7 separate regions of the Homo sapiens genome follow, and regions 1, 2, 3, 4, 5 and 6 are each linked to region 7. Evidence: promoter capture Hi-C in 16 types of primary human blood cells and fetal thymus (Javierre and others, 2016). All regions are on one chromosome and are shown on one strand. The core of a region is centred on a gene start or on the middle of the fragment in contact, and the rest is flanking DNA. Distances in the headings are between cores, read along the strand shown.

Region 1 (3,589 bases), core at 383-2,882, 410 kb after region 7:
GCTGGAGGGAATACCCTCAGTGCTATAATTAGAATTCTGTTAGAATGAGCAGAACTCCCATTCCCCCGTTCTTGCTTGTCCGGAACAGTGATTACTGGATATGGCTTATGACACGTGGTTAAGGGGAAAGTCCCTCAGTGGGTCACAGATGTAGTTCAAAATGCCAAGTGCCCTCTTTGATTGTTATGAGAAAGTCATATGCATTTCTACTGAGAGCCATTTTTACTAACAATCAAGGACTACATAGACTACTTATCAGAAAAGTGAGTTATTGAGGGTTTCACAAAGCTGGCTTTGTAAACTAAAATTTCTAAGAACTAAAGTTACCAAGAGCCCTAATTCAGAATCCCACTAATAAGCCTGATTACTATTGAAACCCAGGGTAATGGGCAAAGCACACAGAGGTAGCTGGAATTCCCTCACCTCTCAGATAGGACATTGCTATCAGTTTAACATCAGTGTTGTCTTAAGTCAACAATTTTTAAAATAATTAATAGATTTTTAGGACAGTTTAAGATTTACAGAATTATTGAGCAGACAGCACACAGAGTTCAATATACCTACCTCGACCCTAATCCTACCTCTGCCCCTACAGCTTTCCCTATTATTAACATCTTACATTAGTGTGGTGCATTTGTTATAATTAATGAGCCAATACTGACACATTATTATTAACTATATAGTTTACATTAAAGTTTACTCTTCTATTGTATAGATACTTCTATGGGTTTTGACAAATGCATAAGGACATACATCTACAATTATATATCATATAGAATAGCTTCACTACTCTAAATATCCTGTATTTCACCTCTTCATCCCACCCCTTCCTCCCTCCAACTCCCTTTTCTTTCCTTTTTTTTTTTTTTTTTTTTTGAGACGGAGTCTTGCCCTGTCGCCCAGGCTGGAATGCAGTGGCACAATCTTGGCTCACTGCAACCTCCCCTTCCCAGGTTCAAGCAATTCTCCTGCCTCAGCCTCCCAAGTAGCTGGGATTACAGGCACGCACCACCATGCCTGGCTAATTTTTTGTATCTTTAGTAGAAACAGGGTTTCGCCATGTTAGCCAGGCTGGTCTCGAACTCCTGACCTTGTGATCCACCCGCCTTGGCCTCCCAAAGTGCCGGTATTATAGGCGTGAGCCACCGTGCCTGGCTCCAACCCCCTTTTTACTTACTATCTCTACAATTTTGCCTTTTCCAAAATATCACAGAGTTGGAATTGACAGAGCAGGAGCATTGCCATCTTGTTGGACAAGCACTGCCATTCTAAAGTTCACCTTGATCAAAAACCACCTAAATCCAAAGGGCATCAGCCTAATGGCTAAGGTGAGCATGACCATAAGCCACAAATAACATCTCCAACTAGAAACATTCAAAACCCCTCCCTGACCAGAGACATGCCAGCCCTGAGATAACCTCCCCTCTGGCCAGAGAGATGTTAGCCCCAGGATAACTGCCTCTCTGACCAGAGACATTCCAACACCACCAAAACTTCTTCCCCAAACAGAAACATTCCAAGCTTGTGGTAAGTTCTCTTACCCTAAAATAAATAGTCTTAGTCTGTAAGAGAGAGCGCTTCTGACCCAAATCGGCCAGAAACCCCTCTCAGGTTTATTCTCCAAAGTAAAACTGTCTTTGACTGCCGAGCCACTTTTCGTGTTTCTTTCCTTTCTTTCACTCTTACAGGAATCATATATTATGAAGCCTTTTCATATTGGCTCTTTCAACTAGCAATATACATTTAAGCTTCCTCCATGTGTTTTCAAGGTTTGATAGTTCATTTCTTTTTTTTTTTTTTAACCTCTGAACTTTTTATTGGCCTCCTGCTCCCCAAAGGGTACCCTGCTTCTGCTGGCTTAATGTCTCAGAACTTTGGTGTCATTATTCTCAGACACCACTTTGCCATCCACTATCCAGTGGGTAGTGTTCTTTTGGATGATTTGCATGGAGTTGCTGCTGTCCAGGGCATCACCAAGATTGAAGTCCTTGCCATCTTCCAGCAGGCAGTGGTAGGTGGTGATCTCAGCCTCCAGCTTGAGCTTGATGTTCAGCAGGGCCTTGTACTCCTGGGCCTGGCACTGTCCCTCTGCCTGGGTCTGTGCCAGCTCTGATTCCAGGTGCAGCAGGATCCCATTGAGCTGCTCCATCTGCAGGGTGTAGTGGGCCTCCACCTCCCTCAGGCTGTTTCCCAAGCTGACCTTCAGATTTCTCATGGAGTCCAGGTCAATCTCCAAGGACTGGACTGTACGTCTCAGTTTCATGAGCATCATCTCAGCAGCTCCAACCTTGGCAGACTGCATGGTGACCACTGTGGTGCTCTCCTCCATCTGCTGAGAGCAGTACTTGTCTGGCTCCTCTCGGCTCTTCTGAGGCAGCTAATCATATTGGGCCCAGATGTCTGCCATGATCTTATCAACGTCCTAAGATTTGGGGACATGTACCTCCATGGTCAACCCAGAGCTGGTAATCTGGGCTTGTAGGTCTTTTACTTCCTCTTCGTGGTTCTTCTTCATGAAGAGCAGCTCCTCGAGAGCCTCGATCTCTGTCTCCAGCTACAGCCGAGTGACACTGGTGTCATCAATGACCTTGTGGAGCCCACGGATGTCGCTCTCTACAGACTAGCGCATGGCCAGCTCTGTCTCATAGTTGACTCTAAAGTCATTGGCAGCAAGATGGGCACTGTCGATCTGCACAATGTGGGCATTGTCCACAGTATTTGCGAAGATCTGAGCGCTCATGTCCTCAATGGTCTTGAAGTAATGGCTCCAGTCTCTGACCTGGGGTCCCTTCTTCTCCAGGTGCTCCCGGATTTTGCTCTCCAGCTTCCTGTTATCAGTCTCCAGGCTCCTCACTGTCCAGGTAGGAGGCCAGGAGGTCGTTCAGGCTTTGCATGATCTCTTTCTCGTTCTGGATGCCTCTCATTCTGGCCAGACCCCCAGCCATCCCCATGCCAGGCCCCCAGACCCCATGCCACCCTGGAAGCTGGTGGAGCAGGACACAGAGATCCAGGAACCAGAGCCCCCGGCACCTGCATAGACACTGGCCACACTGCTGACCAGCCAGGCGCCGTAGCTGGGTGGCTGGACAGAGCCCAGGGACCAGTAGTTGGAGGAGAAGGTGGAACGAGTGGTGAAGCTCATGCTGTCCGGGGAGGAGAGTGAGAGGAAAGGACTCAGGCTTTGCTGATGACCTCATTTCTTTCTATCTCTGAACAATATTCCACCGATCAATGTACTGTAGTTTGTTCATCCATTCTCCTATTGAAGGACATCTTGGTGGCCTCCAGTTTTGGTGATAATGAATAGTGCAGCTCTAAACATTCATATGTAGGCTTCTATGTGAACATAATTTTCAACTCAGTTGGGTACATACCTAGGAACATGATCGCTGGTTCGGACGACAAGACTATGATCAGCTTTGTAAGAAACTGCCATACCATCTTCCAAAGTGGTTATATCGTTTGCATTCCCACCAGCAATGGAAGAGCATTTCCTATTGCTTTGCATCCTCATCAGCATTTGGTATTGGCAGTTTTTTAAAAAATAGCCATTCTAATAGGTGTTAGTGGATCTTATTGTTTTAATTTT
Region 2 (3,388 bases), core at 229-2,728, 490 kb after region 7:
ATAGCCAAAAAATGGCAGAGGGGCACATCTGAATATCTCTACAGGTAGGTGCTCCTTCCACAGCATTACCGGGCCCAGGCCCATATCCCATAGGACAATCCTGGGTTAATGTTACCCCAGCCAGGGAGGAGACAGACACCTCTTGGATTTCTAATCCATTTTCCTCTCCAATGATATTAAATACCACTAAAATATCTAGAAAAATGAGAAGAGAGGAGGGGAAAAATCTCTGTGTCTGATAAATAATAATCTCTGTGTCTGCCAATAGTCTTAGAGAAATTTCAGGAAATTATAGGAAAATAAGATTTTGGAGAATGAAAAAGGAGAAAGTGAGGAGGAAAAGCCTCTTTTCCACCTCTACCATTTCTCCCCTGTCTGAACCATTTCTACCTTGTTTTTACTGGCACCCCAGCATCCTTTGATACCTTGATCTCCTCTTGTCTCACCTTATCAAACCTTGATCCTGGGCTAACCCAACTGTCTGCTTTCCCTGCTTTCCCACTCCTAGAGGAGCTTGTCTGAAACCCAGGCAGTCTGACAGCAAGGCAAAACTATACATCTCTGAAAGCACTAGTAAGGAAGAGATAAACGTGGACCTAAGTCCTTCAGGAGTCAGAAAGGAAAAGGTCTGCTTACTGAGTGGTAAATGGAGGCTGGGAGACTGGAAGCTTGGAAAGCTGGATTCCAGATATTCACAGGACCCCAGAAGACAACGTACACAGAGCTTTTTGTTCCTAGGTCCTACTCAGTATCTGCCTTGCGGATTTCATAGATAAGGCCTACACACTCAACGGACTTCCTTCCCTTCTCCAGCTCCTCATTACCCTAAAAAAACGTCTACAAACCCACTCCCACTCTGAATGCAGCTCTACTCCATCTCAAAATGTCCCCTTTCCCCAGAAATATCCAGTGACTTCCAGGCCCACCTCCAAGGGCCCAGACCTCTAAAAGTCAAGAAGAAAAGCTATGCTATATGCTTCACTTATCTTCAATATAGGAACTTCTGCAAGAAGGCAAGAGGCACTCAGCCCTGCACTCAAGAACCTCAATCCTCTCAGTGGTATCAGAAGTCCTACTTAGGCTGTTCGAAGTTCCTGCTGATTCCTCCCCCTGAATCAACCAGCAAGTTCCTGGCACTAGGACCCTGTAGACAGGGAACCCTGAGCCTGCGCTCTAAAGAGAGAGATGCACCATTTCACAACTTCAGCAAAAGCCAAAGCAGCCAACAAAGCCACAGCCCTATCGGCTGTACTGGGCTCTGCCTTTTGGGCAGCTCGCCGGCCACTCCCCAAAAGCAGAGCATTCCATCCTTTCTCTTTTTAAACCCACGTCATCATCTGATCATAATGGAAATCAATCTCCTCAAACCACCATGCAAAGGCGTATCCATGGCAACCTCAAAAGGAAGGACACAGAGATGATGCTTCAGTGGCTGCAGCAGGAAAAGGTAAGTCCGTTTCTCTTCCATCCACGCCATCCCATCACTCTCTCCTTTCACTCAAGTCAGGTATACAGCTTACCTACAAATTGTATCTGTCACACAAACTGAGAAAACACATAAGGTGAGTTAATAATCATTATGTTATTATATAAGGTTTTAGATCTGCCTGTCTCTCTGCCAAGAAAAAATTCTCCTTTTCTAGGTGATAGGAACAGGGACAAGGTCTCTCTTCTTATTCACCTCTCAGATGACACAATCTCAGCCCACAATACCTGACAAATCACTATCGGTCACTTGTCTTTCTAGTCAGGATGCTGGAAAAATCACTCAAGAATATCCGAGTTTCCCTATGTAGTTGTCAAAAGCTGACAGCAACAGTGATCCCACTGTCCTGCCCCCTCCATGCCACCATCATGCCCACAAACTGGCATGGTAAGATTCCCTCCTTAGCAACCCTAGACTCTAGGCTCTCAAGGTTCAGAAACCGGGAGTTGGGATTAAATTTCTGTCTTCTCTGATGCCTCAGGAAAAGGAATCCATTTCTGCAGACGTAAGAGATTCATCAAATACAAGCGCTACTAATCCTCTATGCCTCAATTTCCTCTTCTGGAAGAAAGGGATAATAACAATAACTTTCTAACAGGATTGTTGTAAAAATCACATGAGAATGCCTGAAAAGCACTTAGAACAGTGCCTTGTATAAAGCACTCAATAAATGTCAGCCATTATTATTATGAGAAAGATGAAGGGGAGGCTTATAGTGTAGGATTTCAGTTCAGAGGGTACTCAACACTCTTGGAGCTTATTTCAGTTCCACTGTCTTCCTCTTTCCTCTTAACAGTTATTTCAAGCTTCCTTTACATTTTCAAGTCCTTACTCCCACCCAAGCCAACACCAGCATTCCCACCTCTCAGCAGATAACCTTGCTGAAAAAGAAAACTGGCCCTATTAGGTAAGAATTTCTTTGAAAATTTAGATATATCTGCATGCATATGTCATTATCTCTTTCTTCCTAAATTCCTTCCTTTCTTCCAACATTCCTCTTTAAAGAAAATGGTATCCCCTTCTTTTCAGGGCCCACCCCTTCCCCTCTCCTCTGAGGACTTGATTTAGCAATCGTCTTTTCTCTTGTGTCTTCATTGCACCCTGTCTACTGGATCTTACATGGCATCAGAAAACCCATAAACAAGACTTCCATTCTAGGAAAAACAAGTCCCTGCTACCTCTTCCACAAGCTGCCACCATTCTGTATTCTTCCTTTCTCTGCTGAACTACTCAAAGTGAGTACACATTCTCTATCTTCACTTCCCATCTACTTCTCGATCCATTGCTATCTGGCTCCATCCCTACCACTCCACTGAAGCTGCTCACACTTTAAAAGAGCCCTGGTGACCCCAATGTCCTACACAACCTCAAGGTGCATTTCCCAAGCTCATCCTAACTTGATCTCCCTGTAGCAACTGAGATTGTCAATCCTTTTCCTGGAATTTTCTCCTTTCCTAGCTTCCTGGGCAACATTCTCTCCTACCCTTGCACGTCAATCCTTCTCATCTCCTCTGTCATTATTTTCAGCCTTCTGTAAGCGTGGCTGGGAGACCTCAACCATTCCCACAACTTCAACTACCACTCATACTTACTGCCCCTAGACAGAAACTCTTCTGAACTTCAGACTCATATCTCACTGTCTGCTAACTGCCACAGAGCCCTCAAGTTCAATATGACCCAAAACACACTTGGTATCTCCCCCACCAAAAACAAACAAACAAAAAAAAGTTCTTCTTCTATATTCTCTCTTTGCTATTGGCACCACCATCCACTCAAAATAGAAAACTGAGTCATCCGCAACAACTCCCTCTCTTGTTCTCAACAACCAATTTAGTCATTATGTCTGGTTAATTCTGTTTCTCCAGTCTCTCTCAGATTCATCCTGTCCTCTCTATCCCCACT
Region 3 (3,657 bases), core at 600-3,099, 470 kb after region 7:
GGGAGTAGCTTTTGTACCTCCTATCCTTTACTAGTATGCCACTTTAGTTTTCCCTTATTTAGTAAATATTCCCTCTGAGAGACCCCAGGTCTTATGGGAAGACTGGCCAGTACATCAGAAAATTGGCTGGGGTGGTGATCATATCATTACTCCAGCTCCAAAAATTGGACTAAAGAGCAGTGGAAGCTACAGGAAGCAGAGGCAGGGTTGGCAGAGGCTACACCCTCCCAGCCCTCCTGACTCCATAAATGAACTTAGGTACCTAGTCCTAAGTCTAGCCCTTTCCTCCTTGGTTAGAGTAACTTACTGCACATGAATTTTAGAAACAGCATTCTTCTGGTCACTACGAAGAGGAGACCTCAAATTTGATACAGCCAAAGCTTCCTCAGCATCGCTTCTCCTCCACTCCTGCTGTGAGCTTAATGGCCCAAGTCCCACTCTCAACACCACACAGGAAGCACTGAAGCAGAAGTTGCTTTAATCAAGGGGTGAAGTCCTCAATCAAGGGGACCTCACTTAACCTTTGGTGGTGGGGTCTCAGCCTACCCCCCACAAGCCCTGAGGCCCCTCAGGAAGGAGGGAGCAGTTGAACAACAAATTATGGCAGAGGCCAGGGAATGGGAGTGGGGGAACCCGGGTCAAGGTGAAGGGGCAGGACGCTGAAAGGGTGGGAGTGAAGCTGAACGGGGCAGGAAGAGCTTAACCCACGTTTCTACCTGGGGGCTGGCTGAGGTGGCTGTGCATCGGGCAGAGCGGCACCAGAGGGCTGAGGGTCGAAGGGGACAGCAGGGGAAAGGAGTGCTTAGGAGATGAGGCGACTGTGAAGCTGGTGCAGCTGCTCCTGGGTCAGCACCAGCCGGTGTCGCTGTCCAAAACCAGCCGCACATGAGAAGGTCACTTTGCCCATGTAGACTGTGTCATCCTGCTGCTCCTCCTTGGCCTGGTGGTTGATGAGGAGAAAAAGACTCCAGGTCAGGGGCTCACTTGAGCTGTGGGCCACTGAAGGGGTCCCTGAGCACTGAGACCAAGGCAGCTCCTGGGTGACTAGGGCTTCTGAGATCCTGGGCTATTGTGACCACATTTTTCAAATAAGAATGGGGATACATAATCTGACAAGGGAGTTTTGAGGCCCTCCTGGTGTCAAAAGTCACGGAAGGTGTTTAGGTGCTAAAATATTGGAATTTCAAAGCACTGTAAGCACTTCTGAGTTACTTGTAAGTAAAATTTGGCCAGATAACCCAAGGTATGCAGTTGTTAGACCTGAGACTCCAAAGGCCTCCTCCAATTCTGGAGGAGAGGGGGGCCCGCCTGAGCTCTCCACACTGTCCCATCCTCCACCCCATGCTCCCCCTCACCCTGAGGAAGGCTGATGAAGGGAAGGTGGCAAAGTCAGTGGGTACTGTGGCTCCAGGGCGCTGAGATACTGTCTCCTTGAGGACCTCATCCTAGGGAAGGGGAGAGGAAGACAAGGGTTCATTTATGGGACCCCCACAGGCTAGCACAAGACCACGTGGTTTCACAGAGACACTAATACCAGGGGGGCAGGGACTTAGTCCTCTATATCAACATACTTTTGCTCTCATCTCCAACCCCATCCCCACACCAGCACTCCTCCTTACTTTGCAAGTCCTCATCCTGTAAGGCCCAACTCACATTCTACCGCTCTTGGGAAGCCATGCCCAACCGTTCTACCCCACAATGATCTCAGCGCTGATGGAAGCTAAAGCCTGAACCAGTCACTCTAAAGATTACCCTAGCTTATCCATTTTGTTATGAGAATCTGTCTTCTGTTTGCACTGAGACAGTGAGCTTCCAAGGCAAGAACCCTGCCTTCCCTTCCATCTCCTCCCCAATTGCTGTCTAGCACAGGGCTGGGCTCAGAGGAACTCCACAAGTGCCTGGCTCCACCAGTTTATGCTGTGAAGTGAGCTCTGCCTGGCAAACTGAGCTGACCTTGAGCTTCTCGACGGTGTCACTCAGGGACTTAAGCTGAGCCACTTGCTCCATAAGTTGGGCCGACGGGCTCTTGGCAGCTGTGGGGAGAGAAAGCTGGTGAGGCCCACCAAGGCGCAGGCAGGCAGTTCTACTGGATTAAGGGTTAGGGGTGCAGGTATAAGACTCTCTAACAGAACAAGTACTTGAGAGAGAGTGGGTGAATCAAACAAACTGAACAGTGAAGCCAAAGAACACTGCTGGGAAGAGCTTCTGTGGTGGGGGAACCACCTGAGCAGGGGCTAAATCCCTGGGCCAAGTGGAGGGGGCAGTTTTATTCATCTTGGGGGTTGGCAGGTACATACCAGGGCTGGTGCGAGTGATGTCTACTACGTGCGTGTGTGTGCTCAATTGATTCAATGTCTCCAGCAGCTGGCTGGTCTTACGATACAGCGCTCCAGCTGGTAACTCACTGCCAGGGCCCTCATGGGATAGCTTTGCAACATGCAGAGGGGGCAGGGATGCCAAGGATGCCTTCATCTGGGCTCCCTGTGGATGAAAAAAGAAGGATAGTGGTAAGAGGTGCTAGGAGGCCCCTGTCATCTATCATCAATGGGGCAAATATGCTCCATCTCCCATCCCAGTCCTCCCCGTGGCTCCCTCACCTTGAGGATGCTGTTCTCATGCTGGAGCTGGGAGATGTGCAGCCTCATGGCAGAGATCTGCTGAAGCAGCAGTGGTGAGTCCTTCACCAGCCCTGGGCCTGGCACAGACCCTGGAGCCTGCCCAGGGATGGCTCCTGTGGGGACCATAAAAAATCTCATCAGCCCCAAGTGGAAAGGGTTGAAAATTGGGCTCCATTCCTACTCTTCCCCTTTCCTCATCCCCCCATCACCCATCTCCAGTCCTGGCTTCCCCCTCCACCCTGCTCCCTTAGCTCCAACTCCCACCAGCCTGGTAACCCCCGGCCAGAGTGGGTCTCTACCTCGCTGCTGTTCTTCTGTGCTCGGGATAGCCCATGGGGGAGCAGGAAAAGAGGAGAGAGGAGTTAGGTGATTTGGGGGTTACGGGGACACACCAGAGGAATCCTGGACACAACCTGCAGGAAAACCCTTTTCCTAATCATCATACTTTCTCTAACAAGACTCTCTGCCACCTATCTTTGGGGACGAGCAGATAAGTGTTAAAGAAAGACACCAAACAGGAGTGAGGCCACAAGACAGGGTACAATGTGTGAAGAACAGTGGCAAAGAGAGTGTGCACTGTACAAAGTACTTGGAACATGAGGCTGTTCCTGCCTCCCTGTCTCAGATGCCATCTCCAAGAAGGGCACGGAGAATGCTCCAGAGACCCCAATATGTCTGCACCCTTAGTGCTCACCAGCAGCAAAGCTTAAGTTGGGGATGCAAACACACTCCCTTGCTCCTAAGGATTCCCCATTGCTCTGAGGCAAAAGACCTTCTTTTTTGGTGGGAAGTTTCATAAATTCAGAACTATGTTTGTTTAAAGAGTGCTAATGTTTGTTTCAAGAGTGCTAAAAACAACACAAAGTAGTAATCCTGGAAACTCTCTCCAAAGAACACAGAGCTGTCTGTACCACAAGAGCCTAAAGTCAAGAAGGTACTTGGTCACCTCCCAAGATCAAGGGGTGTCAGTAACAGAGACTTTGTCAAAGACTCTATGTAGGTGAGGTCAGCTGACAAGACTCAGGAGCAGCTGGGAAAG
Region 4 (3,653 bases), core at 423-2,922, 430 kb after region 7:
CAGCCACAGAGACTGGTTCAGGAATGATCCCATGTCCTTAACTGGGCCAATCAGAATTCTTCCCAGGACATTTCTGCTTGATTCATCCAAAAACTCTGCTCACTCTGGCACTGCTAAGCTGATAAGCTTGGAAGTTACTATTTTGCCTGTCACATGGAGGGAAGCATTCAAGAAAAGTAGAGAAACAGAGTCCAGATAACACTGTGACTCCCTGAGTCAGTTAATTTTGAACTGTCCTTCTCAGTTGTGTTGAGCTGTTAAATTCACTTTATTTTTTCTCATGTTTGAGTTGGGCTTCTCATGTTTGCAATCACAAGTGCCTGACTAATGAAAATGAAATAGAGCTTTCCAACATGATTTTAAAATGTGTTATTTCCTATTTGAAGTACTATGGATTCTCAGATTGGAAAAGAAAGTTTGTTGGAAAAATAATGAAATGCCTGCTTGTCACTGACAAATGACAATACATATGCAAACACAGATGAGAACTCTACAAACTATAGAAGTATGGAGCTATAATGTAGCTATAATATTCAGGTAGATGCATACCTTCCAGTTCTGGACTAGCTAAGACCATTCCTGCTTCATGTCCTCTGTGCTAGATCCCAACTTCTCACAACTTGAGAGAAGCTCCCTCCCAGGAATATGCAGAAGTAGAAGAACCCAAACTCCCTGAGATGATCTTCAAAGGAGTCCATCCATCTGAAGCTGAGTGTTGGCCCTGGGGAAGTGTTTGGATTAGCTCTGCTCTGACTGGCAACTATACTGCCCACCATAAAAGTCCCAGCCTAATTCATGCAACAGAATTTCTACCTCCAGCATTTCATATAATGTGTATTAGTTGAATGTCAGGTATTTTGCTTTCATCATCTTATTGAATCCTCACTATAATTCAGTGAGGTATATAATTTTCACCCACATTTTATAGATGAGTAAATGAAGACTAAGAGTTAAGTGATTTGTCCTGGATCACAGAACCAGCCATGGTGGAGCCAGGGTTCAAACTGGATTCTTTTTGATTCTCAAACCTAAGGAAAGAAGGAAGAAGGAAGGGAAGGGAGGGGAGGGGAGGGGGAAAGGGGAAGGGGAAGGGGAAGGGAAGGGGAAAGGAAAGGAAAGGAAAGGAGGGGAGGAGGAAGGGAGAAGGAAGGGAGAAGGAAGGAGGGAGAAAGACGAAAGAGAAATAAAGATGTGAGAAACAGAGGGGGCCTGGTATGGGTTACTGACAGTCTTCCACTTCTGGGTTCCAGGCCCTTCCTGAGGCCTGGCTGAACTCCGGTCCACAAGACTTCCCTGGTATTATAATAAGTCCCTCCTTGGTAAAAAGGCATTTGATGTTTAAAAAAATAAAAAAATTTTAAAAACCCTCTTTTCTCTTCAACTAGCTTCAGCTGATTTGAGTTACTTGTATCCAAAGAGTACTAACCAGTACAATCATCCACTACAATATCTTGCCAAAGGAATTGTGCTAGCAACACATCAGCCTCTGGCATGCAGCAAATGAAAGGACCTGTAACACCAGTCTCTTCCCTGCCCAACTAGCTCACTGTTATTCCCCCATCCATCTTTAGATCATAGATCGCCTTGGTGTTGAGCATGGCTTTACAGTAAGGGAACACACAAAATTCTCTTCTGTCCTGAGTCAAAAGTCACTTTCCATTTCATTGCCCCTACCACTAGCCTGAAATCACATCTGGGATCCCTGAGAATCCAAAACCCTACTGACAAAATCAACACCTGGGCCACGTGCAGTGGCTCACGCCTGTAATCCCAGCACTTTGGGAGGACGAGGCGGGCAGATCACGAGGTCAGGAGTTCGATTCCAGCATGGCCAACATGGTGAAACCCTGTCTCTACTAAAAATACAAAAATTAGCCGAGTGTGGTGGTGCACGCCTGTAATCCTAGCTACTCGGGAGGCTGAGGCACAGCAATTGCTTGAATCCAGGAGGCAGAGGTTGCAGTGAGCTGAGATGGCACCACTGCACTCAAAAACAAAAACAAACAAACAAACAAAACACCTTAAGCCTGTAAGACCAAGGATCAGAGTGCTATCCTAGCAAACAGACACACAGGGGTCCTTGCCCAAGCAGACTGCATGCCCAAAGCAGCAAGGTGGTGGTGACACAGCTAGCTTTAAAGATGTATGACACGTTTTAGTCATCAGAGCCCTTGTGATAGAATCATCTGGTGTTTAGGTGCCCACCCCTTCCCTATCCACAAGGACACATCAATTCAATCCAACAAATCCTTATTGAGTATCCACTTTGTTCCAGATATTTGCACTAGACACTGGGAACAGAACAAAATAGTTTCATTACTAGGGAAGAAGAGTAAAGCATAGTAATGAATCCTTAAGATTAGACATCCATGTCTCTGGGAAAAAAGGTAACTAGTAAAAAGGTTGTGCCACATTCACTGGTCAGCTTTTGGGGAGCTTTTCTTTCCACCCCATATTTTAAGCCACTTGACCTTGATATCTAAGAACTCTAGACCAGCCAACATGGTGTCTGATGCACCCTTCTGACAGCCCAGAGTATTTCAGAAAAGGACTTCCCCAAGGGCTTATCTGGGATTATTTTGTGAACTGAATCGACAAGAATGACACGGGGTCATGCTGGGCTTTAGAAAGCTAAGCTAGAAGCCAGGGAAAGGCTACCCTCTCAACCCCTAGCTTGTCCATTGCCTCGGGGCCCTGCAGACTGAAACACCCACGCATGCTCCAGGAGAGAAAGGACAAAACAAACAAATATCCCTAAGAAAACTAGCAGTAGCAAAACCAGGTACCGTATCCAAAACCTAAAAACAAAAATGTGTAATGAAAGGAGACTAGCCATTATTCTGTTTCTATCCTGAGATGCTACATTAGCAGATATAATTTATTTTCCCATGGTTTTCTGGGAAAGAGGTAAGTCTCAGGGTTTTTGCTACTTCATAAGTATTTCAGCCAGTCTAACACATTTGACAAAGACAACAGAAATTTACGTACTAGAAGAGAAAGATTCAGTTCTATTAGATGAGAACAAGATAGAACTAACTTACCATGGTGTCAGACAGAACAAGTTTCCTGTCATTTCTGTTAATTTGGAGTGGTTTTGCACCCAAAAACCTCAAGGCCAGGGTGATAAAAACAGTATAATTTTTAAAGGAAAACCAAATATCCTATACTCATTTGGAAGATTTGCCCAGCTTTCCTGGTATTCTCCTCTTCAGTGTGTGTGAAGCTTACTCTTAAATACTCTGTGTTCATGCTATGAAACACATTTTCCCTTATCTGCATAGCTCTGTCTACTTTCTCTGAAGCTTCCAGCTGCAAACTTACCTTTGTGTTCTTAGCTCTGGAAACCAGGATCCAAATCCCAGGGAGGCCAGAACCACTTGCTCTGTTCCTGTTGGGTGGCAAGAAGGGCTCTCTGTGGTTTCCAGGCTGAACAGTATTTGGGGCATTGGAGATTGACTTCTGAGGCTCAGTGGCGGCCAGCCATGTGACCAAGGTGGGGGGAGGGACGCTCCTGCAGGGTCAGGGATGGATGCCTGGTTGACTGACAGACCAGGGTATAGCAGGGTCTGAATAGAGCTGGCCATGATCATAGGCAGATGCCTTTGCTCTAAATTTCTTCTTGAATTTTAACTTGGTGATCTTTTTATGGCAGT
Region 5 (3,782 bases), core at 277-2,776, 380 kb after region 7:
CTGACAATCAGACATCAATATTTTTTAAAAGGAAGACACAGATCCTTGAGATGATAAAACAACAGGCTGCCCATTATGTGTAGTTAGATAAGAGTAAAATCTGGAGAATATACATAAACATTGTGATTGAAGAGAAGCTTCTATCTATACTATTTTGAATATCATTATAATTAAATAGTGTCTTGGTTAGTTTGTTTGCAAAATCCCCCCTAGGACATTCTAATTTAAAAAATGTAATCTCCCAATGTATGTAACCTTTAATGCTAAGGCTATGTTGCCTCCAAACATTTGTTTTAAGAATTACATTTGTGTGAATTTGTTTCTTTCATGAAGTTTACTCAGCTAAAATTTGTAAAGTATATATCCCTGTGGTCACTCTATCTATGTGGCCTCACCAACTTTATTCTGTAACTCTCCCACCCCGCCCCATTACCCAAAAGCTTGACTTCTGTGTATTAGTTACAAAGCATCAAGACATGTTTGTGCTTTCTGCCTAAGGCCTGTAATACATTTTGTAACTCCAACAAATTCATTTCTTAAAAGTAAGAAATGTAAGTTTTCCTTCAATATCCAGCAAAGTTTTTTAACTTCATATGAGTCATATCAGGATACTGAATTTCCCAACAGATACTGAAGACCAGTATTAATTCACTTAGAAGCCCGTTAAGAATTTTCCTAGAGATGTCTGAGGAATCATCAGATACTCCCCTGGTTCAGTCTTTGACAGAGGCACTAAAAAATGATCTGTGGAAGGAAGATTTTTCAAAAGGGGAACACCTGAGGCCGGGCCTGGTGGCTCACGCCTATAATCCCAGCACTTTGGGAGGCCAAGGCAGGCAGATCCCTTGAGGTCAGGAGTTTTGAGACCAGCCTGGCCAACATGGCAAAACCCTGTCTGTACTAAAAATACAAAGATTAGCCAGGCGTGGTTGTGCATGCCTGTAATCCCAGCTACTCCCAGCCAAGCACTATGCTAAGCACTTAACATGTATTATCTCATCTAATCCTTAAATCTATCTCACGAGGTAGGTCTGTGACTATTCTCATTGTACAGGTGAGGAGACTGAGACCCTTAGAGGATGAGGAGCCTGCCCAAGGTGGCTGAGGCAGGAGAATCACTTGAGCCCAGCAGGCGGAAGTTACAGTGAGCTGAGATGGTGCCACTGCACTCTAGCCTGGGCAACAGAGCAAGACTCTGTCTCAAAAAAACGGGAGAAACACCTAAGCAAATTCTGGCCCATTCTTACAATTTATTTGGCTAATTCATGCTACATAAAATCACATGCATGAAAATATGTATGTGAGATAGTACAACAAGTTGTTTCTACAACGGATTATGACTTTGCATACCATGTATATGTTAATAAACCAAACTTGGCAGTAAATTTGAAAGATTATAAAGTATAAAAGACTGAGGGGGCAGGCATGGGTCAAGGGTCAGCACACATATGGAGAAGTTCAGAAGCTACCAGAAGGGGCTGATGAGCACCAGAAAGGCCTCACAGGCCTCTTGGGGCACCCACCCCGGTCCAGGCTCAGAAATTTTATCTTTTTAGTGTCCCAAAGATGATTAGGTCCAGTGACACTGTCTAATGCTAACCAAGATCACAAAGGCTGATGCATAAACCTGAAGGCCAATTTATTTAATTTACAGTGAGATTTACAATCGTTATAGGGGTTTGTTATGTTCATCCTCTAGCCTTTGCATTCTCTCCTCATGGGCAGATATACAGGGTAAGCCAAATTATCACCAAAAAGTTGCTGAATATAGAATCAGAATGAGTTAATCATTAGTTAAGTGATTCCAGTGTTTAATAGACTTAGGATGATCTTTCATCTCTACTCATGAGATATGTCTAGGACTAGGATCAGATTGATAGGGCCTTCTGTCTTAGATTGTTCTGCAATGAACCCCACTTCCTCCCATGGCTGACTGATTCCCTTTGAATGAAAGTCTTTCCTTTTGGTGGCCTAGGAACCTCCGCTGAGGGCCTTTGGTGATGCAGTACAGTTTGGGCATTACAGGAGAAACACTCCTTCCCAGACAGTGATGAACTGCAGTGGCACAGCTGGTGGTGATGGGGCAGAGGTGTGGCATTCGAGGGAGCTGTGGTGAATGGAATGGGGGTGGCCTCTGCTCCCAAGCTCATGCATTTGGTGAAGGGTCCATCCTCCTGCACACCATGTCCTCATTCAGGGTTGAAGGAGAGCCCACAGCTAAGTGAATGTCATCAGACAAAGTTACTGAAAAATTCTGAATGGGCTCCTTCAAGGAGAGGCTTCTGGAACCAAAACCTCTCTGAGGGCCACTTGTCTGTGTATCCAGGAAGTCCCTGTAATTGCCCCATGGGACTGTCATCTACGCAGTGGTCTGCCTCCCTCAGAGTCTGCTGGTACCTCCCTTCACTGCCTCTCAGGAGAGGCCCTCTCCTCACCTAGGCACTCTCTTCCACCTCTGCTATTCTGGGCCAAGTTCAAAAGTCACCTCTCCTTCCCAGTTGGGAAGACAATGCCTTCCCAAGGGCCAAGGTTGAGGAGACCTCTCTTTCCTCTAACTCGCATCACACTTTTTATCATTTATCACATAACACTTCCTAATCACGACAACAGCTAAAGCTTACTGAGGGCTTTCTATGTGCCAGGCACTATGCTAAGCACTTAACAGGTATTATCTCATTTAATCCTTAAATCTGTCTCATGAGGTAGGTCTGTGACTATTTCATTGTACAGGTGAGGAGACTGAGACCCTTAGAGGATGAGGAGCCTGCCCAAGGTCATGCAGCTCATAAGAGACAGGGTTTGAAGGCATGTCTTTAGATTCTAGAGCCTGTTCTCACCACTTTGCACATACCACCCTGGGTTTTAGTTAGCTGTGTGTATGAGCACATGCCTGCTTTATACCAGATTGGGGTTGAAATATCATGTCTCATGGGCTCCAAGCACCCCACAGCCTGTTTTTGTATGGCCAGCTAGCTAAGCATGGTTTTTATATATTTAAAGCATTGTAAAGAAGGAGAAAGAGTAGGCAGAAGAGAGAAAGGAGAGGAGAAGGAGAGAAAAAGAGAAGAGGAGCGGGGAGAGGAGGGGAAATAAAAGGACAGGGGAAGAGATCATCTGTGCACAAAAAGCCTAAAATATTTTCTGTCTGGCCATTAACTGAACATGTTTGCTGATACCTGTACTAGATCATAAGCTCTTTAAGAACAGATTCATATTTTACTCATTTTAATTCTCCCACAGGACCTAACACAACATCCCCTCAACTATTTTTGGAATGAAAGAAGAAAGGTGTGGATAAAACAACCTCTCCAAAGCTCTCCTAGACTCAGAAGTTAGAGCTTCCACCTTTCCGCTGCTCTAGGGATTGATGTAGTGCTGCAGTTACATCAGCAGATCTCCATGGACAGAGATGGGGTGTGGTCTCTCTCTCCTTCAAGAGGAAGATGAGTTTGAGTTTGTAAAATTGCACCACCTATACTCTCATAGGCAACTTGAAGAATTCTGAAAGTTCTGGTTGGTATTAGAGGCAGAACTGTGGCCAAAGGATTGCTTACGTTAAGTGTATATCTTCATTACTACAGGTATGAAAGACATATTTGGGGTGTCTGCTCTCCCTGTCTTCCATGGGGATGTGCTCTCTAGGATATAGCGAGTCCTCCCCATACCTCCTACCTCTGATCTGGGTCCCAGTGATAGGGCAATCAAAGTTGGACAGATCAGATTCTCCATGAAGAATTTGGAATCGCTGTGGGATGGTCCCTTGAGTAGGGTGGATGTGAACA
Region 6 (3,351 bases), core at 294-2,793, 450 kb after region 7:
ATCTCTGCTATTAACATAGCCCCTCCTCTATTGCCTCACCAACTATTTTCAAACCAAAAAGTCTTTGTCTATTCATAGCCACTGTAAAAGTAACATTCATTTTTCTGTTTTTTAATCTAATGTCTGCGTCTTCAGTGGTTCTCACTGGCTAATCTAATCAGTGTGTTCTAGGGAGGTTTATTCCTTGCCTGTTCAGCTTGTCCCAGCACAACAAAGGTAAGTCATTTGCCTGGGGAGAATCAGCTCTTTTAAATCAGACAATCCTCAGGAAAGATGTCAGGACTTTTGCCTCTTTTCTTCATGGGACTGAGATTCAGGAGAACATTCCACATTCCACTGCCACACAGCTCTGCAAACCCCAAATCCTGACTCTCCGAAGAAGGATATGGGCAAGGAAAACAAAGAAGGCATTTGAAAAAACCAAACCTTGCAAGAAAAACTTTGCGTACTTGGTGATTTTTCCAGGTTTATCCTGACTTTTGGCCTCTGTTTTTATGAATTCCATTTTTGTTTAAGTGAAAAAGATACGGTGAGAGAGACATAGTGGAAAATGGGAAGTTTGGAGGAAGATGGGAAGGAAGAAGCCAGTGAGTAGGAAGTGAGAATCGGGAGTGGAGGGAGTGAGGGACGCGGTGCTGAGCGATGGGGAAGAGAAGCATGCCAGGAAGGCGCAGCGTCTCTGGGCACCCAGCATGGGGCCTGGTATATGCACACATTTCCCCTCATTGAACTCTCAACAGTCCAGTGGGGAGAGCATTCTCGTCCCCAACCTTACAGAGCTGGAACAGAAGCTCAGAGACTTACAGACAGGAAGAAAAGTAGGAGCTGGAAGCCCCATTAAAAAAGCAACTCTACCCCTCTTCTTCCAGTCTCTTCTGTGGCTTCTCTAAGGGTCTTCAGCCTCCTTATTTCAGGGTTGACCTTCTCTTTCAGATAGGAAATTTATCATCTGGTTGGATATCCTCACTTTCTTCCTAGATCACGTGGAGTTTTCCCTTAGTGGAAAAGCCTCATTCCTGGATCTAGAGCCTGCTGGTGGCAGACATGTAAAAAACATGTTTCGGAGGCCATGCCCAAGCCAACACATTAACCCAACATTATAGTTTCTGTTAATAATCCATGGAATCAAAGACAGGCAAGACTAGGGAGATCAACACATGCTGGGTCACCAGAGGCTTTCCTGGTTTTAGCACAGAAGATCTGTGACCCAGGAAACCCCTTAGTCCCAGGAAGATCAGCACAGCCTAGGCCAGAAACAGTTTCGGGCCTTAGGGAATTTCCAGCTGGTTGGGGATTCAACAAATTCAGAAGAGTGTGAGGCTCCAAAAAGAAGCACAAAGGGAGGGAAGGGTTCAGTGAAAGAAAAATCACCCTTGTTTGGAGGATTACCTTGTTCCACAAATGTTCATGGCTTACCTACCAGCCCCATGTGTTAAAGAAAAGCTTTGTGGAGAAAATGGCCTTGGAGATGCAGTGAAGGGATAGGATAGGGGTAGGATTTAGAACAGTAGAACTACCAAGGGGTATCTGAGGCAGAGGGAAGAAGCCACAAAAAATATAGACATAAGAGGTGGGAGAACATAGCATAAATATCCTGAGAACTGGAGAGCAGTTTCCCTGGCACAGGGCAGGTTTGGGGAAATAAAGCTTTGGGCATGCGACGATAGGCTGGGTAGTCTATGGAGAGGTGTAAACATCAGCAAACATGTCTGAAGTGAAAGGAATGTGGAAGGGGACTTGGTACAAGAATGGAATAATGGACTTCACAGTGGATTGTAGCACAGGTGGAAAGACCAGTTGAGACGTTACTGCCAAGCATTCAAGTGAAACCCTTTGGTTTCTACCTACCCAGGTTTTGTTCAAATAATTTGGACATTTATTTCAGACACTTCAGGTTTGGGGTTTTTTTGTCTCTCACTTCACACAGGAATTTGAGGGTGAGCTTCATCTGGTTTGGTGAGGGTATTGGAAGGTATGGGGCAGGGGCTGTCCCTCCAGGATGCACAAAGGGAACAGGTTTGCAGGCTCAGGAATCCTCCTAATGGAGGAAGGAGGAAGGAGGGAGGAGGACCTGCCCTGGCAGCACCGTGCTTTCTTCCTCGTGTCTAGTGTCCACTGGGATTTGGCTGCTGCACTGCTTGTCTCCCTGTCCAGACCTAATGCCTCGTTAGCTGTTAACCAAAGCATGTTCCTTACTTATTTGAGAGGCTTTCTACCTTGCCAGAGAAAGACAGCCATTTGAATGTTCTCTGTGAGAAAAGGGAAAGGCAGTGTGGCGGTGTGAGACCACAGCCTGAAGTCCCCGACTGCCACCACCTGCCACAATATCCTGCTGCCACTCCCCAGCTCTGCTGTCTCTAAGCCTCAGTTTCCCACATGAACCAGGCGACTAAAGTGGGGATGGCAGATTTTCTCTCAGAAGGGAAAAGTGCTAGGCGTCAGGTCCAAAGAAGTATACTGTAAACCCCTCCTCGTATTCCAGCACTGCTTTGGAATGCTTTTTTTTTTTTTTTTTTTTTGCTTTGGATATTTTTCCTTTTTACTTTTTTTTTTTCAAGTTCTCTCATGAGGTTGCATACTTTACTTTTTTTCATTTAAAAAATGTAGTTCCAGTTGGACTTAGGGAGGAAAGAGAAGTAAATGTTAACAGTTCACTTTACAATCTTGAACGAATTTTTTACTTAAGGTTGATTTAACTTGGTAAGTGTATTTTTTGTGAATTTCCTATTCATATCTATGTTTCTATTGATGTGTTTCTTTTTTCTATTTATTTATTTATTTATTTATTTTTGAGATGGAGTCTCACTCTATCACCCAGGCTGGAGTGCACTGGCCACCATCTCAGCTCACTGTAACCTCTGCCTCTCAGGTTCAAGTGATTCTCATGCCTCAGCCTCCCAGGTAGCTGGGATTACAGGCATGCGCCACCATGTCAGGCTAATTTTTGTATTTTTAATAGAGATGGGGTTTCGCCATGTTGGCCAGGCTGGTCTCAAACTTCTGGCCTCAAGTGATCCACCTGCCTCAGCCTCCCAAAGTGCTGGAATTACAGGCATGAGCCACCACTCCCAGCTTCTTTTTCCTATTTATTTGTAAAAGTTACTTATTTATGTTATAAATATTTTTCTTTTTCTTTGTTTTTAGAGAAAGGGTCTTGCTCTGTCACCCAGGCTGGAACGCAGTGGCGCGATCACAGCTCACTAAAACCTCAAACTCCTAGGCTCAAGAAATCCTCCCGCCTCGGCCTCCCAATTATAGATATTTTTCTGTTTGTCATTTGTCATTCAATTTTGTTTGCAGTCTTTTTCTTTTTCTTACAGGAAGGTTTAATACGATGTGTGTGTGTGTGTA
Region 7 (3,741 bases), core at 346-2,845:
GGACTGGAGCCTGAGGCAGCGCAGGCCAGCAGGGATTGAGGGAGGACACAGAGCTGAGGGGCATTTCTGGTCGGGGGAGCACCAGGCTGTGGTGCCCAGGTGGTTGTGGGAGCATGAGGGAGACACAGGGTTCTAGACTGACTGACTTCTAGCTTGAAGGGCCGAGGGGTGGACTTGGAAGTTGGCAACCCAGGAGGCACAGCAGCTTTGAGGGTAGGGAAGAAGGGTTCAGTTTTAGACAGGATGAGTTTGAAGAGCTGGAGAGTCATCTGGATTGGGATGTCCAATAGGCAATTGATCATTTTAGTCTGGATCAGGGTGAGGGAGGGGGACCATGAGAATGTGGAGTTGAAAGTAATACTGCAGAGCTGGTAGCTGATAATGTGGGAAATGAACCAGCTACCTAGGGATAGTACATGAATTACACAAAGAAGAGCAATCATCAGCCAGCCATGGTGGCTCACACCTGTAATCCCAGCACTTTGGGAGACCAAGGTGGAGGGATTGCTTGAATCCAGGAGTTCAAGATCGAGACCCTGTCTAATTAAAAACAAAACAAACAAACAAAAAGAAGTCCAGGCGTAGTGGCTCACACCTGTAGGCCAAGGCAGGTGGATCACGAGGTCAGGAGCTCGAGACCAGCCTGGCCAACATGGTGAAACCCTGTCTCTACTAAAAATACAAAAATTAGCTGGGCATGGTGGCAGGTGCCTGTAATCTCAGCTACTCAGGAGGCTAAGGCAGGAGAATTGTTTGAACCTGGGAGGCGGAGGTTGCAGTGAGCCGAGATTGCACCAATGCACTCCAGCCTGGGGGATAGGGCGAGACTCTATCTCAAAAAAGAAAAAGAAGCAGCTCAAGAATCACAGGACTGTGGAAAATCCTACAGGCCAAGAGTCTTGTTAGGTGTGCCTCAACCCTGAAGCAGGTCCCTCAGTCTGCAGATATTTAGAGATATTTAAAGGAAAACCAGGAAGGAGCCAAGAGAGAATGAAGCCTAAGGTGTCCTGAGACCCTCAGAGAACTCAGCCCAAGGGTTAGGAGCTTGTGTCAAGGTGCAGCAGGTGAGTAGGGCACGCAGGATTTCTTTCCTGGGTACGGAAGGCATTTCTCTTCAGCTTTCATTGGTCCCAGGCTCGTGCCAGACAAGGCATGATTGCACCCATTTTGGGGACAGTGCCTGGGCGTCCCAGGCAGACCCAGGGGCCGCATGCAGCAGGGCCTGAGGAGGGAGGTGTGGACGGAGGAGGCCCGCTGCCATTCTTGGTATGGTTCTCACTCCAGGAGCACAGCTGCATCTGGTCTCACTCTGGGCAGCTTATAAGGCCTGGTGTGAGTTTTGTTTATGCAAGTGCAGCATAAAAGGAACAAATCTACCAGCACCGGGGCTGTTGCCACTGAGTCCTTTTGCATACATTTTTCAAATGATAACTCACTCTACCCACCCCCCTTCCCTACCCCCAAGGCGATTTATTGAAAAAACCACCTTATATGGTAATATTGCTAACACACCGTCAGCTGGCCTTTTTAGGGACTTTGTTTAAAGAAGATCCGCCTCTGGGGTTTTATATTGCTCTGGTATTCATGCCAAAGACACACCAGCCCTCAGTCACTGGGAGAAGAACCTCTCATACCCTCGGTAAGTACTGTACGGCTTTTGCCACCTCTTCCTTTCCGGGGCTGCCTGGCCTCCTGGGTGCGGGAGGTGCCTCCAGATTGGCCTGGCTTCTGTGACGCTGGCCCAGATCACACACCAGAGCCCTTGGTGGGCAGCGGCACCTGCAAGCATACTGCAGCCTGCTGAGAAAAGGCGTATCTGGCCATGGGACATCCTGGGGCAGGGGCAGCTTGGAACCGTGCTCCCTGCCTCAGAATGGGGACTGGCGGGATATAATGCCTGCAGTCTCTACTAGCCCTGCTCCCCAGGGCCAGTGCAGATCCACACCCTGATGTCCTTTGTCTTGGGTTAGAATGTCTGGGAGGCTGTTTTAGGGGATCATATACTTTGCAGAAAAGCAGCTTTTCAGAATACTTGAGTCAAAGCCAACAGTGGTCCTGGTGTCTGTGAGCTGTTTAGTCCATGAAATGTCTGTGCTGGGAATGGGAGGGTATTTTCTTCAGGTCCCCTGTGGGTCTCTCTGTCCTCTGATCTGTGCTTGGCTGAGGAGAATGGAGGGTTTCTGCAGTCCTTGAAGGCTCTAGGATCATTGGGGGATGGAGAAAATTCCACTTGCCCTGTGGCATCGTGAGGTTTCAGGGTAGAAGGAACTTGGGACCCATCTAGTTCATTCTCCTCTGATGAGGACATTGAGGCCTAGAGACGTACAGCCACTCATCCAAAAGACTCACACCCAACTGTGACCCATTTGCAGATGTCATTACTCCCCCCAACCCACCCAACACACACACAACACATGCACAAAGAATTAAGAGGAAGATGAGATGAAGGGGCCACTTCTATGTTTGGCATCAGAATTCACTAGCATCTCTTCACAGGTGAGGCAGGCTGGGTGTGGCAGTGCAGGCCTTGAAGGCAGACTGTCAGGCTAACCAAGTTACTGAGCGACCTCAGCTTCCTCACCTGTAAAATGGGGGCAAGAATAATAATATCTACTTGGCGATGGTGTGAGGATTAAACGAGAGAATGCGTATATACAGCACTCAGCTCAAGGCTGTCAGGGCCCGGCCCTGAGTTCTCAAACTTTAAGAATCACCTGGAGTGCTTGTTAAAACACAGATTGCCCCATGCCCCACCCCAGATTCTGATTCCAGTAGGCCGAGATATGGCCTGATACTTGGAATTCCTAACAAGCTCCCAGGCGACACTGAAGCTGCTGGTCTGGGACCACACTTTGTACAGGGAGGCTCTAAGTGCTCACTTTGATTACTTGAATGTGGGTTTGGACTCTGATACTAACCCTTGGGCTGAAAAGAGGAAGAGCTTCCTGTGACAGAGAGGGATGGGTGCTGGAGAAACTGCAATGAACAGTAAGATCCTACATGCCAGGCCTGAGAAAAGGGGATGGGCCGTGTGACATCATGACCTTGGGGCGAGATATCTTTCCTCTTTCCCCTTGTTCATTCTGCCAACATTTATTGAGCACTTATTATGGGCCAGGCACTGTCTCTGCTCCTTAGGGACAGTGGAGAGGCTTCTGCAGTTACTGGAAGAGACAGATAAACAGATGAGAACCATGGAGCAAATAAGTACACGAAAGGGGTAAAGGCCAGGAGGAGCCCATCACTCAACCCAGGAGTTATCAGGGAAGACTTCCTGGAGGAAGAGGTGCCTGAGCTTGGTCCTGAAGTAAGGACCAAGCTTGGTCCTTCCTGGTAAAGAGGAAGCATGGTCTTTGGGACTCAAGTGGCTCAATTCCACTGAATTTAGATAGCAAGGCAGGAATCAGGTAAAACTAAATTCAGAGGGGTCCGCAGGGCTGGATTACAAGGGCTTTAGACTCTAAAGGATCAGGCTATGGGGAGCCATGGAAGGGTTTTAATCTGGAGGGTATCTGTTGAAGGGGCTGCTTTGGCAGCTGTGAGGAGAGTGGACTGGAACAGGGCAAGAGCGCTACTGCAGCATGCGGTGGTCCTGAGCTGGTGGCATGGGTGCCGTGCAGGTAGAAGTAAGAAGGGCTGGTGATAGGTTGGGAGGGAAGAGGGCGGCACCAGGGCATTGGGCATGGGCTCAGGGTGGGTGGTGTGAGTCTGTGAGGGCAGCTCCGGGCAGAGGCTGCTGAT

Evidence for each region. The method cuts DNA at HindIII sites, captures the fragments that hold promoters and counts their contacts. A CHiCAGO score of 5 or more calls a contact.
Region 1: a contact is called between a fragment that was not itself captured here and the fragment with the promoter of ACTG2 in region 7, in 1 of 17 cell types (total B cells). The highest score is 5.2, in total B cells.
Region 2: a contact is called between a fragment that was not itself captured here and the fragment with the promoter of ACTG2 in region 7, in 1 of 17 cell types (activated CD4 T cells). The highest score is 6.9, in activated CD4 T cells.
Region 3: a contact is called between a fragment that was not itself captured here and the fragment with the promoter of ACTG2 in region 7, in 4 of 17 cell types (activated CD4 T cells, total B cells, naive B cells and 1 more). The highest score is 7.1, in activated CD4 T cells.
Region 4: a fragment that was not itself captured here is called in contact with the fragment with the promoter of ACTG2 in region 7 in 3 of 17 cell types (naive B cells, activated CD4 T cells and total B cells); the score reaches 7.2 in naive B cells.
Region 5: a contact is called between a fragment that was not itself captured here and the fragment with the promoter of ACTG2 in region 7, in 1 of 17 cell types (activated CD4 T cells). The highest score is 6.2, in activated CD4 T cells.
Region 6: a contact is called between a fragment that was not itself captured here and the fragment with the promoter of ACTG2 in region 7, in 9 of 17 cell types (total B cells, naive B cells, M2 macrophages and 6 more). The highest score is 10.0, in total B cells.

The regions. Positions count from the first base shown.
Region 1 is chr2:74,304,867-74,308,455 of GRCh38, forward strand. The region is part of intron 6 of SLC4A5 (solute carrier family 4 member 5); the gene reads right to left. It also overlaps the pseudogene KRT18P26. Among named protein-coding and RNA genes, the nearest start is that of SLC4A5, 37 kb to the right of the region's middle. The HindIII fragment of the contact is 227 bases long and covers 1,520-1,746 here.
Region 2 is chr2:74,384,304-74,387,691 of GRCh38, forward strand. DCTN1-AS1 (DCTN1 antisense RNA 1) reads left to right here and starts at 1,200. Exons shown (of 3, transcript NR_158174.1): 1 at 1,200-1,447. It also overlaps a transcript of DCTN1 not described here. The HindIII fragment of the contact is 1,624 bases long and covers 667-2,290 here.
Region 3 is chr2:74,360,697-74,364,353 of GRCh38, forward strand. It overlaps DCTN1 (dynactin subunit 1), which reads right to left. Exons shown (of 32, transcript NM_004082.5): 27 at 2,918-2,932; 28 at 2,598-2,731; 29 at 2,298-2,481; 30 at 1,954-2,033; 31 at 1,356-1,445; 32 at 459-940. The coding sequence ends at 803. Among named protein-coding and RNA genes, the nearest start is that of DCTN1, 18 kb to the right of the region's middle. The HindIII fragment of the contact is 2,943 bases long and covers 379-3,321 here.
Region 4 is chr2:74,324,799-74,328,451 of GRCh38, forward strand. SLC4A5 (solute carrier family 4 member 5) reads right to left here. Exons shown (of 31, transcript NM_133478.3): 5 at 3,322-3,388. Among named protein-coding and RNA genes, the nearest start is that of SLC4A5, 17 kb to the right of the region's middle. The HindIII fragment of the contact is 3,097 bases long and covers 125-3,221 here.
Region 5 is chr2:74,273,101-74,276,882 of GRCh38, forward strand. All of the region lies in intron 8 of SLC4A5 (solute carrier family 4 member 5), which reads right to left. Among named protein-coding and RNA genes, the nearest start is that of SLC4A5, 68 kb to the right of the region's middle. The HindIII fragment of the contact is 2,176 bases long and covers 439-2,614 here.
Region 6 is chr2:74,343,447-74,346,797 of GRCh38, forward strand. No RefSeq gene overlaps it. Among named protein-coding and RNA genes, the nearest start is that of SLC4A5, 1.7 kb to the left of the region's middle. The HindIII fragment of the contact is 204 bases long and covers 1,442-1,645 here.
Region 7 is chr2:73,891,413-73,895,153 of GRCh38, forward strand. ACTG2 (actin gamma 2, smooth muscle) reads left to right here and starts at 1,596. Exons shown (of 9, transcript NM_001615.4): 1 at 1,596-1,639. RefSeq lists an enhancer at 672-1,485. The HindIII fragment of the contact is 3,877 bases long and covers 1-3,317 here.